Regions from separate parts of the Homo sapiens genome. Here regions 1 and 2 are each linked to region 3. Evidence: promoter capture Hi-C in human tissues and cell types (Jung and others, 2019). All regions are on one chromosome and are shown on one strand. The core of a region is centred on a gene start or on the middle of the fragment in contact, and the rest is flanking DNA. Distances in the headings are between cores, read along the strand shown.

Region 1 (4,482 bases), core at 1,009-3,508, 80 kb before region 3:
TTACCATGAACATGTCAAATACTTCCACAGTAAAAGTAACAAAATAGACATTTCTGTAATAATTTATTACAGAATCATGAAAGAACCATGGAACACAATGATGGCACATCAGTGGCTCATCTCCTTTACTTGACAAGTGAAGATACTAAGTCCTTCTGGGGTTGTGGAAGGTGTGTGGAGTTGTGAGCAATAGTTTAGGAGTCAAGGTTTTCTCCTTCCATGTCTTTCTTTCCTATCAAAAAGCCTAAGAATCCACAAACAGGTGTGGTGGAGATTGCTAACTGTTGCCTAGTATGTGTTCTTTTCTTCTTTTTTTAAAAAAAATAAACAGTATTTCCCCATCTGCCATTTTTAATCAGGGCATGACTTCACGGCTAGAGAACAGATCCCAGCTCTGCAGCTGGCTCTGGCCAATAGGGTATGAATGGAGATGATTAATGCAATTGCCTAGTCACCTTAGAAACAGCCACTTGCTCTAAATTTTCATTTTTTTAAATTATACTTTAAGTTCTAGGGTACATGTGCGTAACGTGCAGGTTTGTTACATATGTATACATGTGCCATGTTGATATGCTGCACCCATTAACTCGTCATTTACATTAGGTATTTCTCCTAATGCTATCCCTCCCTCCCTCCCTCCCCCGACCCCACGACAGGCCCCATTGTGTGATGTTCCCCACCCTGTGTCCATGTGTTCTCATTGTTCGATTCCCACCTATAAGTGAGAACATGTGGTTTTTGGTTTTCTGTCCTTGTGATAGTTTGCTCAGAATGATGGTTTCCAGCTTCATCCATGTCCCTACAAAGGACATGAACTCGTCCTTTTTTATGGCTGCACAGTATTCCATGGTGTATATGTGCCACATTTTCTTGATCCAGTCTATCATCAATGGACTAAATTTTCACTTTTATCTCCTTTACTTTGCTGAAAAACAATGAAATTTCAGCAGCAGCCTTGGACTTAGAAAATGGAAGCCATAAGCAGAGGGTACCAAACTCTAGAAAAAGATACTTCTCTCTTCCTCTCTTCCTCTGATCTAGTTTCACCCAGAATCTCATTTCCATGATGGCTAGACCTGGTCTTTTTCTTCATTGCTTTATCCTCAATCCCAGACACAGAGCAGAAACTCAGTCAGTATTTGCTCTCAGGGCTTTTGTCTCCATAATGCCTTCTTTAATCCTCACCGCTGTAGCTCAGTTTCTTTGTCCAGACTTGGCTTTGCTGGCCACTTTAGCCTCACTATTAAATAATTGACCTACTGATTATTTGATCACCAGTATTAGCTGATCCTTTTCTAGGTGCAAGGTGCTGGTGACAGAGTATTGACAGAAACAGGCATGGGCTACTGCCGTGGAGCAGATGGCCCACTCCCTGTGTATTCAAGGGGGAATCTCTACTTCAGCCTGAACTTGGTAAAAGTCATTTCCCCCATACCCCTTTCCAGCTGCCCACTGTGTTGTCTGGAAAACTCTGGTCTTTTAGGAGGACTGAGAATGAGATGGTTAGGACTGTCAATGACACAAACATGCCCCATGAGCACAAAGTACAATTTGGGGTGATGTGAGAGGGATGATGAAAGCTTCCCCAAACAGGGGAGATTGAGAGTTTTCCTTTAAAATGTTTTTATTTTTAACCAAGTTACCATTTCTTTGATGTAAGCAATACAGATAATAAAAAATAAAGACAAAATCATTGAAATATATCAGTGCTATACTTTCTACTCATTGATAATCTTACCACCCAGGTTACCAGTGGTTACCACTGATAACATCTTATGTATATATTGTACACTTTTCATATAAATCATATTTTTCATAGAAAAACAATCCTAAAATTCATATGGAACAAAAAAAGAGAACTAAATAGCCAAAGCAATCCTGAGCAAAAAGAACAAAGCTGGAGGCATCACACTACTTCACTTCAAAATATATTACAAGGCTTATAGTAACCAAAACAACATGGTGGTATGGCTCACGCCTGTAATCCCATCACTTTGGGAGGCCGAGGTAGGTGGATCATGAGGTGAAGATATCAAGACCATCCTTGCCAACATGGTGAAACCCCATCTCTACTAAACATACAAAAATTAGCTGGGTGTGGCAGTGCAGGCCTGTAGTCCCAGCTACTTGGGAGGCTGAGGCAGGAGAATCACTCAAACCTGAGAGGCAGAGGTTGCAGTGAGCCGAGACGGCACCACTGCACTCCAGCCTGGTGACAGAGCAAGACTCTCTCTCAAAAACAAAAACAGAAACAAAAAACCAACACATAGACCAATAGAACAGAATAGATAACCCAGAAAGTAATACACATATTTATAGCCAACTGATTTTCACCAAAAGCTCCAAGAACATACATTGGAGAAAGGACACCCTCTTCCATAAATGGTGCTGGGAAAATTGGACATTCATATGCAGAAAAATAAAACTGTACTTCCATCTCTCATCATATACAAAAAATCCACTCAAGATGCATTAATACTTAAACACAAAACCCTAAGCTATAAAACTACTTGAAGAAAACATAGGGAAAACACTTCAAGACATTGATCTAGGCAAAGATTTTATGGCTAAGACCTCAAAAGCATAGGCAACAAAAGCAAAAATGGACAAACGGGACTATATTAGAATACAAAGCTTCAGCACAGAAAATAATCAACAGAGTAAAGAGACAACCTGTCAAATGGGAGAAAATACTTGTGAACTATTCATCTGACAAGGGACTAATATTCAGAATATACGAGGCACTCACAACTCAACAGTAAACAAACAAACCAACCCACAATTAATCCCATTTAAAAGTGGGTAAAGGACAGGAAGAGACATTTCTCAAAAAAATACATACAAATGGCCAACAGGTATTTGAAAACATGTTCATCACTAATTATCAAAATGCAAATCAAAACCACAATGAGGTATTATCTTACCTCAGAATGGGTATTATTAAAAAGACAAACATTAACAGATGCTGATGAGGATGTGGAGAAGAGGAAACTCTTATACACTGTTGGTGGGAATGTAAATTAGTACAGTCACTATAGAAAACAGTATGGAGAGTTTTCAAAAAGCTAAAAATGGAACTATCATATGACCCGGCAATCCCACAACTGCATATTTATCCAAAGGAAAATAAATCAGTATATCAAAAGACACTTGCACCCCTATGTTTATTGTAGTGCTGTTCACAATAGCAAAGATATGAATTAACAAATTATCCATTAATAAATGGATGAAGAAAATGTGGTGTATATACACAATGGAGTACTATTTGGTCATGGAAAAGAAAGAAATCATGTCACTTTCAGAACATGAATGAAACTGGAGGTCATCATGCTAAGTGAGATAAGCCAGACATAGAAAGACAAATATTGTATATTCTCCCTCATATATGGGAGCTTAAAAAGTTGATGTCATGGAGGTGGAGAGTAGAATGAGACCAAAGGCTAAGGGTGTGTGTGTGTGTGTGTGTGTGTGTGTGTGTGTGTGTGTGTGTGGTGGAGGGGATGAAGAGAGGTTGCTGAATGGGTACAAACATACAGTTACATAGAAGGAATCAGTTCTAATATTTCATAACAGAGTAGGGTAGCTATAAGTAACAACAACGTATTGTATCTTTCAAAATAACTAGAAGAGAGAACTTGAAATGTTCCCAACACATATAAATGATAAATACTCGAGGCAATGGATACCCTAAGAACTCTGACTTGATAATTATACATTCAATGCACATAACAAAATATCACATGTATCTCATAAATGTGTACAAATATTATGTATCAATAAATTTAAAAATTACATTTTTATATCAACCACATATGCACAAGCTAAGAAACATTTTTAAAAAGATTTTAGAATTTCTGACATCAGGCTGTATCTTAGAATCAATGTATTTACAAAACAACATATGACAGTTTAAGTGGAAGCATCCTTTTTCTTAGTAATGAATAATTAATAGTCTATCTTATACTTGATGACATCTTAGATCTAATGAAATAGGTATATGTTTAGAGAAATGAGATCATATGTTTAGAGAAATGCTATCTCACCCTACAGTGACTAGCTTTTTTCAAACTAATATGTTGTGAATATCTTTCTAAGTCAATAAATAGAGCTCTGCGTTGTTATTTTTCATTGGCAAAGAATATTGTTGTACCATAATTTATTCATCCCCTAATTTGGTACAAGTATTTTATTTTCATTTTTTATAAAAACCATGGTTGGGATGGCTGTGCACGTGTGGGTGCAGGGATTATATGAAGACTGTACTTTCTACTCAGTTTTTTGTGAATCTAAAACTACTCGAAAAAATAAATTTATTAAAAAGAAAAACAAGCCATTATAAACAATGCAAGTCCAACAAGTCACAAGTCACATGGCCAACCTCATATTCAAGAGGTAGAGAAATAAACTTTACCTTGTGATTGGGAAACTACCAATTAACATTGCAAAGGAATGTGTATACATAAGAACAGATGTGATATGGTT
Region 2 (4,572 bases), core at 782-3,281, 110 kb before region 3:
CAACAAAATTGTTATTGACTACAGTCACCATACTGTGCTATCAAATAATAGGTCTTATTCATTCTAACTATTTTTTGGTAACCATCCCCACCTCCCCACAATGTCTTGCTACACTTCCCAGCGTCTGGTAACCATTTTTCTATTCTCCATGTCCATGAGATCAGTTGTTTTGATTTGTTGGATGCTAAAATAAGTGAGAACATCCTATGTTTATCTTTCTGTGTCTAGCTTATTTCACTTAACATAATGACCTCCAGTTCTATTCATGTTGTTGCAAATGACAGGAACACATTCTTTTTTGTGGCTGAATAGTACTCCATTGTGTATAAATACCACATTTTCTTTATCCATTTATCTATTGATGGACATTTAGGTTGTTTCCATATCTTGGCTATTGTGAACAGTGCTGCAATAAACATGGGAGTGCAGATATCTCTTCCATTGACTGATTTTCTTTCTGTTGGGTATATATCCAGCAGTGGCATTGCTGGATCATATAATAGCTCTATTTTTATTTTTTTGAGAAACCTCAAAACTGTTCTCCATAGTGGTTGTACTAATTCACATTCCCACCAACAGTGTACAAGGGTTCCCCTTTCTCCACATCCTCATCATTATTTGTTATTGCCTGACTTTTGGATGAAAGCCATTTTAGCTGGGGTGAGATGATATCTCATGATAGTTTTGATTTGCATTTATCTGATGGTCAATGATTTGAACACATTTTCATATGCCTGTTTGCCATTTGTATGTCTTCTTTTGAGAAATATGTATTCAAATCTTTTGCCCATTTTTAATTGGATTATTAGATTTCTTTCCTATAGAGTTGTTTGAATTACTTATCTATTCTGGTTTTTAATGCCTTCTTGAATGGGTAGTTTGCAAATATTTTCTCCCATTCTGTGGGCTCTCTCTTCACTTTGTTGATTGTTTCCTTTGCTATGCAGAAGCTTTTTAACTTGATGTGATCCTGTTTGTTCATTTTGCTTTCGTTGCCTGTGCTCATGGGGTATTGCTCAATAATTTTTTTTGCCCAGACAAATGTCATGGAGAGTTTCCCCAGTGGTTTCTTGTAGTAGTTTGCAGTAGTTTCATAGTTTGAGGTCTTAGATTTAAATCTTTAATCTATTTTGATTTTATTTTTGTATGTGATTTGAGATAGGGGTCTAGTTTCATTTTTATCCATTGAGCCACTCTGTGCCTTCTGATTGTAGAGTTTAGTCCATTTACATTTGACGTAAATGTTATATTTTTAAGTAAGGACTTACTCCTGCCATTTTGTTACTTGTTTTCTGTTTGTTTTGTGGTCTTCTCTTCCTTCTTTCTTTCCTTTCTGTCTTCCTTTCAGTGGAGGTGATTTTTTCAGTTTCCTGCTTTTTATTTTTTGTGGAACTGTTATATGTTTTTGAGTTTGAAGTTACCATGAGGCTTAAAAATAGTATCTTATATCCCATTATTTTAAGCTGATAACAACTTAACACAGTTTGCATAAAGAAACAAAGACAGCAAACAGAAAGCTAATACAAACTCTATACCTTAACTTCATTCTCCCACTCTAAAACTTTTTGTTGTTTCTATTTATGTCTTATTGTACTTTATATGTCTTGAAAAGTTATTGTAGTTATTATTTCTGATTGGCTCATCATTTAGTTTTTCTACTTAAGACAAGAGTAGTTTACACGTCATAGTTACAGTGTTATAACATTCTGTGGTTTTCTGTGTACTTACTACTGCCAGTGAGTTTTGTACCTTCAGATGATTAAATTGCTCATTAATATCCTTTTCTTTCTAATTGAAGTACTCCCTTTAGCATTTCTTCTAGGACAGGTCTCGTGTTAATTAAATCCCTCACCTTTTGTTTGTCTGGAAAAGTCTGTGTTTCTCCTTCAAGTTTGAAGGATATTTTCACCAGATATACTATTCTAGAGTAAAAACTTTTTTTTTTGTCTTTCAGCACTTCAAATATGTCATGCCACTCTCATCTGGCCTGTAAGGTTTCCACTGAAAAGTCTGCTGCCAGATGTACTGAAACTCCCTTGTATGCTATTTGTTTCTTTTCTCTTGCTGCTTTTAGGATCCTTTCTTTATCTTGGACCTTTGGGAGTTTGATTATCAAATGCTTTGGGGCAGCATTCTTGGGTTAAATCTGCTTGGTGTTCTATAACCTTCTTGTACTTGGGATATTGATATCTTTCTCTAGGTTTGCAAAGTTCTCTGTTATTATTGCTTTGAATAAACTTTCTACCTGTATCTCTTTTTCTACCTCCTCTTTGACACCAATAACTCTTGGATTTGCCCTTTTAAGGCAATTTTCTAGATCCTGCCAGTGTGCTTCATTGTTTTTTATTCTTTTTTCTTTTGTCTCCTCTGACTGTGTATTTTCAAATAGCCTGTCTTCAAGCTCACAAATTCTTTCTTCTGCTTGATCAGTTCTGCTATAAAAAGACTCTGATGCATTCTTCAGTGTGTTATTTGTACTTTTCAGCTCCAGAATTTCTACTTGATTCTTTTTAATTATTTCCATCTCTTTGTTAAATTCATCTGATAGAATTCTTGAATTTCTTTCAGTTTCCTCAACATGGCTATTTTGAATTCTCTGTCTCACATATCTCTGTTTCTTCAGGATTGATCTCTGATGTCTTATTTAATTCATTTGGTGAGGTCATGTATTCCTGGATGGTCTTGATACTTGTAGATATTTTTCTGCATCTAGGCATTGTATTTATTGTAGTCTTTACAACCTGGGCCTGTTTGTACTTGTCCTTGGAAAGGCTTTCCAGATATTTTGAAGGACTCGGATGTTGTGATCTACGTTGTATCTGCTGTAGGGGGCCCTGCAAGCCTAGTAATGCTGTGGGTCTTGTACACACTCATGGAGGTACCACCTTGATGGTCTTGGACAAGATCTAGAAGGATTCTCTGGATTACCAGGCAGAGATTCTTTTTCTAGTCCCTTTACTTTCTCCCAGAGTCTCTCTCTTTCTGTTCTGACCCACATAAAGCTGGTGACACACTCCACCGCAACTAGGACTTTGCTGGGTAAGACTTGAAGCCAGTACAGCACTTGCCCAGGGCCTGCAGTAACCACTTCCTAGCTGCCATCTATATTTGCTCAAGGCTCTGGGGCTCTACAATCAGTAGGTGAGAAAGCCAGCCAGACCCGTGTTCTTCTCTTCAGGTTGGCAAGTTTCCCAAGGCCCTGGGTTGGTCCAGAGGTGCCATCCAGAAGCCAGGGACTAGAGTAAAAAACCTTAGAAGTCTACCTAGTATTGCATTGTACTGTGACTAAGCTGGCATTCAAACCACAAGACACAGTCCTTCCCATGCTGTCTTCCCCTTTTCTAAGGCAAAGGAGCCTCACCTCATGGCCACCACCACCACAGGCCCACAGGGAGTACTGCCAGTGTACTGTTAATATTCCAAGGCCCAAGGACTCTTCAGTCAGCTTGTGGTTAATGCTGCCTGGCCTGGGACTCACCCTTCAAAGCAGTGGGCTCCCCTCTGGCCCAGGGCAGGCCCAGAAATGCTATCCAAGAGCCACATCCTGGAATCAGGGACCCCAAGCCCAGTTGGTGCTCTACCTCTCTGTGGCTGTACCTGAAGCCAGCAAGTCACAGAGTCTCACCCAAGGCCCATGACATACTAATTGGGTATCACTTCTGGTTTTTCAGGGCCCAAGGGCTCTTCAGTTAGTAGGTGATGAATTCTCTCCAGATGTCGTTGTGAAGATAAAAGAGGTTTATTTTCATGAAAACATATATACTTTAAAGCACCTTATGAAATGTATGTCCATTCCACCATCAACATTTTTACCTCTGTTGGGAAGATAATTCCTTTTGACTCCACAATAATTATTTATATCTACACATGGGAATGTTTCTTTTTTATTTGTGTGGTTTTGGTTTTAAAGCATTTAATCATTACAAGACTCCTAGAATTACTATATCATGTGCTCTCTGAAGGCAAAGTTCCCATCTAATTTTTCTATTTTATCTTTCTACCTCTAAGACCTAAAACTCAATAAATGTGCATTAAGGCAGATATCCTTGGGAGAAGTGACACAGAAACTATGTATTCATGCTCTGTGTCCATTGTACTTCACTCAGGGTTAAGACTGCCTTGATGAGGGCAAGTGTAGGAAGACTCTGAGGCCATCTGAGAGTAAGTGGTGAAGACTTAAGAAGTGGGGCAGGAAACACAGCAAGAGAGAGTTGTCAGGAAGCAGAAAAGCAGTTGGCAAAAGCAACCACTGAAGGACTGGTTTTACCTCTAATTCTTCCTGGACTGGGGATAATCCTAGAGGGCTTGTCTCTGTCAGATGAACTTTTGGTAGCATTTCCCAGAACCATGACTCAAAACTTGCCACTGTGTTCCCATCTGGGATTTGGAAGATAAGGTAAGAACTTGGAAAGAATTCAGGGGACACTTAGTTAAATTGGGTCAAAATGTGTCCATTCTCCAGCCTCCGTCTTGGCAGTGACACATTGGAAAATGGTTCCACTATGACTGAACAGCCAGGGAAGAGTACAGCTTATTTATACTCTCTGTTTTCCACTTTATTTTCTACAAACT
Region 3 (4,240 bases), core at 1,547-4,046:
TGCACTATGCTGAGGAAGAATGTGCAGAGAGAGCTCCAAGTCTCTCCACAGAACTCCAGGGCAGTCTTCCTCTGGTTTGCCATATCTGGGTCCTCCACACACTCGGGAGCTTTGGTGGCCATGGTCTGGGTCACTGCTAGGCTAGAGGGGGTGGTCTCTTTGCCTTTGATGTGCTCCCTGGGGGACATCTCTGTTTTCTCCTTCCTGGGCTTTGTGTTCCCAAATAGAGTGGAGCTGACTAGCTTAAGACTGGATTCTGGAAAATCCTTTCTGCACACTCTGGTTTTCACAGCTGTCTTGGAATATCTACAGATGTCTTTCTGTGAGCGCAGATTCCGGGCAACTTGTTTCCAATAGACTCTCTCATCCTTGAGCTTTAGGCATGAGGTTGGATTGCCAGCAAAGACACAGGAAAATTCATGGTCCAATTGAGTGCACTCAACCTTGAGAGAGATGCCCTCCTCCTGCTCAGTAGCAGCCCATCTGCAGTTGGCTTGGTCTTTGGTGACAAACTTGCCTTTGTTCCCGGGCCTGCTTTTCTGCTTAATCTGGGTGTTGCCCAGAGTGTCCTTTTGTTCTGAGACCACTTTGCTGTGAAGTCCATTCTTCACTTTTTTTTTCCCCTCCACCAGGAGCACCTGAGCAGCCAGTAGGAGGAAGGAGAGCAGGGTGAGGCTACAGATCTTCATGGCTGCAGCTGGGCGTTCACCTGTTTGACAAAAGGCAAGTGAGTCAGTGGCAGGCAGCAGTTCAGCTGTGCAGGACTACACGCTGGCCTCCCCCTACCCTGACAGGTGCCTACATGATTTCAGAGTAGACCAAGAACGCTTCTGGCTCCTGGAGTCACTAGACAAACAGCCTGTCTACTCACATTTCCACTTGACTTGAGTCTTGAGTGTCACAAAAGTACCACTCTTTGGAGCCTCACGAACTCTCATTTATCATTTATTCACTCATTAACTCCTGCATCTGCTCACTCCTCACTCTTTCATTCACTCATTCAACAAGCATTTACTGAGCACCTACTATATGCCCCCCACCAGACTAGGTGTTGAAGAAATCACCATGATTGAGAAAGCCTCAGATTTGAAAGAGCTTAGAGACCACTCTTTGGGAGAATTTAAATAGCATTGATCAGGGAATCTATCCCGTCATCTCTGTTTCTGATATGAAACAAGTTACTGCTCCAAACTTTCAGCTCCAAAGGGCTGGATTTCTATCTCATGACTCCATATGGACACAGATGCCCAAAATGAGAAAAGACATGACAGATGCCCAAAATGAGAAAGGATGTGGTAAGCATCATGAAAGGTGATGTTGACCCAGAGTTGAACATGCCTGGGGTTTGGGTGGGGTGGGTGGGGTTGTGGGGGTGGGGGAGCTTTTTGTGGGGAAGTAAGAGTTTAAGGAAAGGTGTGAGGTGGGGTGGTTGTCTGATTTGCCTGGGCAAAGTGAATCAGGGTGGAGAGAGGTGAATTTCAACCAGATAGTTCACACTACAAGATCGAAGACAAGGATCATGAGAAATCATTGAATCAATAGGATGAACACCAACGTCACACTGAACTGCATGAATCTGATCATGTGTACAATAAAAACCCATGCTTAACAGAAGAAGAGAAGTCAGTTTCTATATGACACCTCCTGTGTGCTAAGTACTGGTCTAGGGTTTGATTCCCACCTTGTGAAATCCACACAAGAGCTCTTCCAGGTAGCTATTAATATGTCATCCCAGGTGACAGCTCTGACTCTTAAGGCTCAGACAGGTAAGTAAATTGCTCAGGATCTCATAGTGGGCAAGTTCAAAGCTGGTATGGGTAGCCAGATCAATCTCCTTATTCCTTTCTGTCACCCCTGGTTGATCACTTTTTGCTTTTCACATTTACTCTGCCCTTTAAAAACATTGCCAAAGAATAAGAAAAACAACTATGAACAATGACAATTTAGTTTCATATAACACATAATGATAAGATGATTTGTATTATTTGTGCTCCATTTAAAACAAAACACAGAATTTTTTATAAAAAGAGGCAGACCCAGGAAATGGTCCTGATCTGATTTCTACCCTAGAAGTTGGCCATCTTCTAGGGTTAAGAAGGAGAAAGACAATCACAAAAGGGCAGAGAACAGCAATAAATGGTGAAGAGGAGACTGGATATGCCAGAAAAACACCCAGTCATTTCTCACGGCCCTGGGGCTCAGCCCCCACCTGCCCATGATGGAATGCAGGCCCAAGGAACTCCAGGCCCTTGGTGGAGTGAGAAGTGGCAGCAGGTAATAAAGCTGTTAAAGGAGCGAGGCTCTTACCTTGTTCTGAGCACACGGATCCAGTGCAATCCCAGGCAGTGCGAGTGAATTGCAGGCTGCAGCTGTGTCAGGTAGAGTGCAAGGGGGGTAGACTATTCAACAGGAGCCAGGCTGACTGGGTTTTTATAACACTCACTGGGTTTTTACAACACTGTGGCACGTTACTCACAGCTCCTCCCAGCCACGCCCCTCCGAGGGAGCCGGTTCCTGCAGGGAAAGTGCTGGATGTAATCCAGTGAAAAGGGGGGTTACCTGCATGCCATCAAACGCTTCCTCTAGGCCCTTCCCTGTCCACCCTGTGGCCAGGATAGGAGGACAACTCAGCCTCACAGTGACCCTCCTTGATGGGGAGAGGACCCCAGCAGTGATGTCTATGGAGGAGTAAAATAACTATAATGACATGATCCGAGCTGCCAAACTACTGAGCCCATTTTACCTGAGTTCTCCTTTTCCCTCATCACATCCGCTCTAGTAGGGAGTGCAATGATTCCTCCCCTTTTACAAAAGCAGGAATTGGTTCTGGAGATATGTAAGAGCTTGTCCAAGTTCACAGAGGCAGGAAAAGGAACATCTCAAAATTAAAAGTGAGATTCTCTACATCCATGGTCTGATCTCTTCCTGCCTGCCACTCTCAATAAATCTTTGTTGAATGGGTGACTGAAGTTGCCGAAGTTTTCGTAGTGTCTGAGTTCCTTTTTCCATCTGAAGTTACTACATAAGCAGAGGATACCCTAATTCTAGAGGCAGGGAAATTTACATTAAAAATTCCCTCTTTTTTATCAGGGAATTCTACCAGGCTCTGAGAGGCTGGTAAAGAGGGAATTTTTAATATAAGATTACTGTTGTAAATACTTACCTTCAGGTCTCATTCAGAGAGCTCAGGCTGCCCTGCCTGCTACAGGCACAGTCCCACACCAGAATGACCCAGGTGGAATCCTGGCCACAGCATGTGTTTAGCTGAGTGCTATGCCCAAACCACTTAGCCTCTCCCATCATCCATTTGCAGTGTGCTGACAATAACAACGTCTCCTTTATAGCTGCATACTAAATTTTTACTGGGCTAAGCTGTTAACATAAAGTGGAGCAGAATCGTTTTGCCTCATGACAGGGTCTTAAGTTGTATACTTTGAAAACAGACATTTGTTATTTACATATGCAGCATTTAAAAAGAAACTCACTTCTACAGGGAAGATGTGGCCCTCATTATATATTATCACCTCACCTTTCATAGATTTTCAGAAGAAGAAATTGTTCACTTTTCCTTAATTCAGCCATAAGAAAACTATTGTTTAGTGTGATATTAAATGGCAACTGACTTTTGGGTTTGAGATAAGGCAATAGGGAGTGATGGGGACTGTGGCAAACTAGAGAGTCTCTGCCTCCATAGAGGTCAACACTCATCTCCAATTGACTGAGAAAATGCAGGGATTAGGCTCAGTATTGTCACACTGTCTGATTTTTAAAATGACATCCCCAAATCCAGATGTGTTTATATGAAATTGGTTGGCAGCTAATTAAAATTTTCTAAAAATAAAGCTGTAGCTCAACACTATGCAGGCCAAAACTTGTAACTGTGTTTGGATTTTATGAACGATCCACCTGTTTGAGAATTCCGTGGTCATAGCTATAGATGTTGACCAATTTACTCAGAGGCTCAGTCTCTGCATGAATCTGTTGGAAGAAGCCATTTCTGAAGCTGTGTGCCTCTCTCCTAAAATTGCCTCACCCAGGGGTCCGTCCTCACTATCCTCACAAACACCCCGCTGAGGCCCTGACCTCCACGAACAGGCTCTCTCATGCGGTATTTTGGAGGATTATTTGGACATAGGCAAGGCAAAGCTGCTTTGCTCAACAAGGGGAGTCTCCTACAAAATGGAAAATTCTACTTGATCCTTGGGAGGCAGGCAGATTCTTTCTGGAGGCAGATTGCAGT

Evidence for each region. The method cuts DNA at HindIII sites, captures the fragments that hold promoters and counts their contacts. A contact is called where the count stands out against the background at its distance.
Region 1: a contact is called between a fragment that was not itself captured here and the fragment with the promoter of FGFBP1 in region 3, in 2 of the 25 tissues and cell types used here (dorsolateral prefrontal cortex and spleen).
Region 2: a fragment that was not itself captured here is called in contact with the fragment with the promoter of FGFBP1 in region 3 in 5 of the 25 tissues and cell types used here (aorta, dorsolateral prefrontal cortex, neural progenitor cells and 2 more).

What each region holds. Positions count from the first base shown.
Region 1 is chr4:15,856,746-15,861,227 of GRCh38, forward strand. No RefSeq gene overlaps it. Among named protein-coding and RNA genes, the nearest start is that of FGFBP1, 80 kb to the right of the region's middle. The HindIII fragment of the contact is 4,017 bases long and covers 251-4,267 here.
Region 2 is chr4:15,829,634-15,834,205 of GRCh38, forward strand. The region is part of intron 3 of CD38 (CD38 molecule); the gene reads left to right. Among named protein-coding and RNA genes, the nearest start is that of CD38, 54 kb to the left of the region's middle. The HindIII fragment of the contact is 8,209 bases long and covers 1-4,572 here.
Region 3 is chr4:15,935,944-15,940,183 of GRCh38, forward strand. It overlaps FGFBP1 (fibroblast growth factor binding protein 1), which reads right to left and starts at 2,797. Exons shown (of 3, transcript NM_005130.5): 1 at 2,744-2,797; 2 at 2,308-2,528; 3 at 1-709. The coding sequence starts at 689. The HindIII fragment of the contact is 13,154 bases long and covers 1-4,240 here.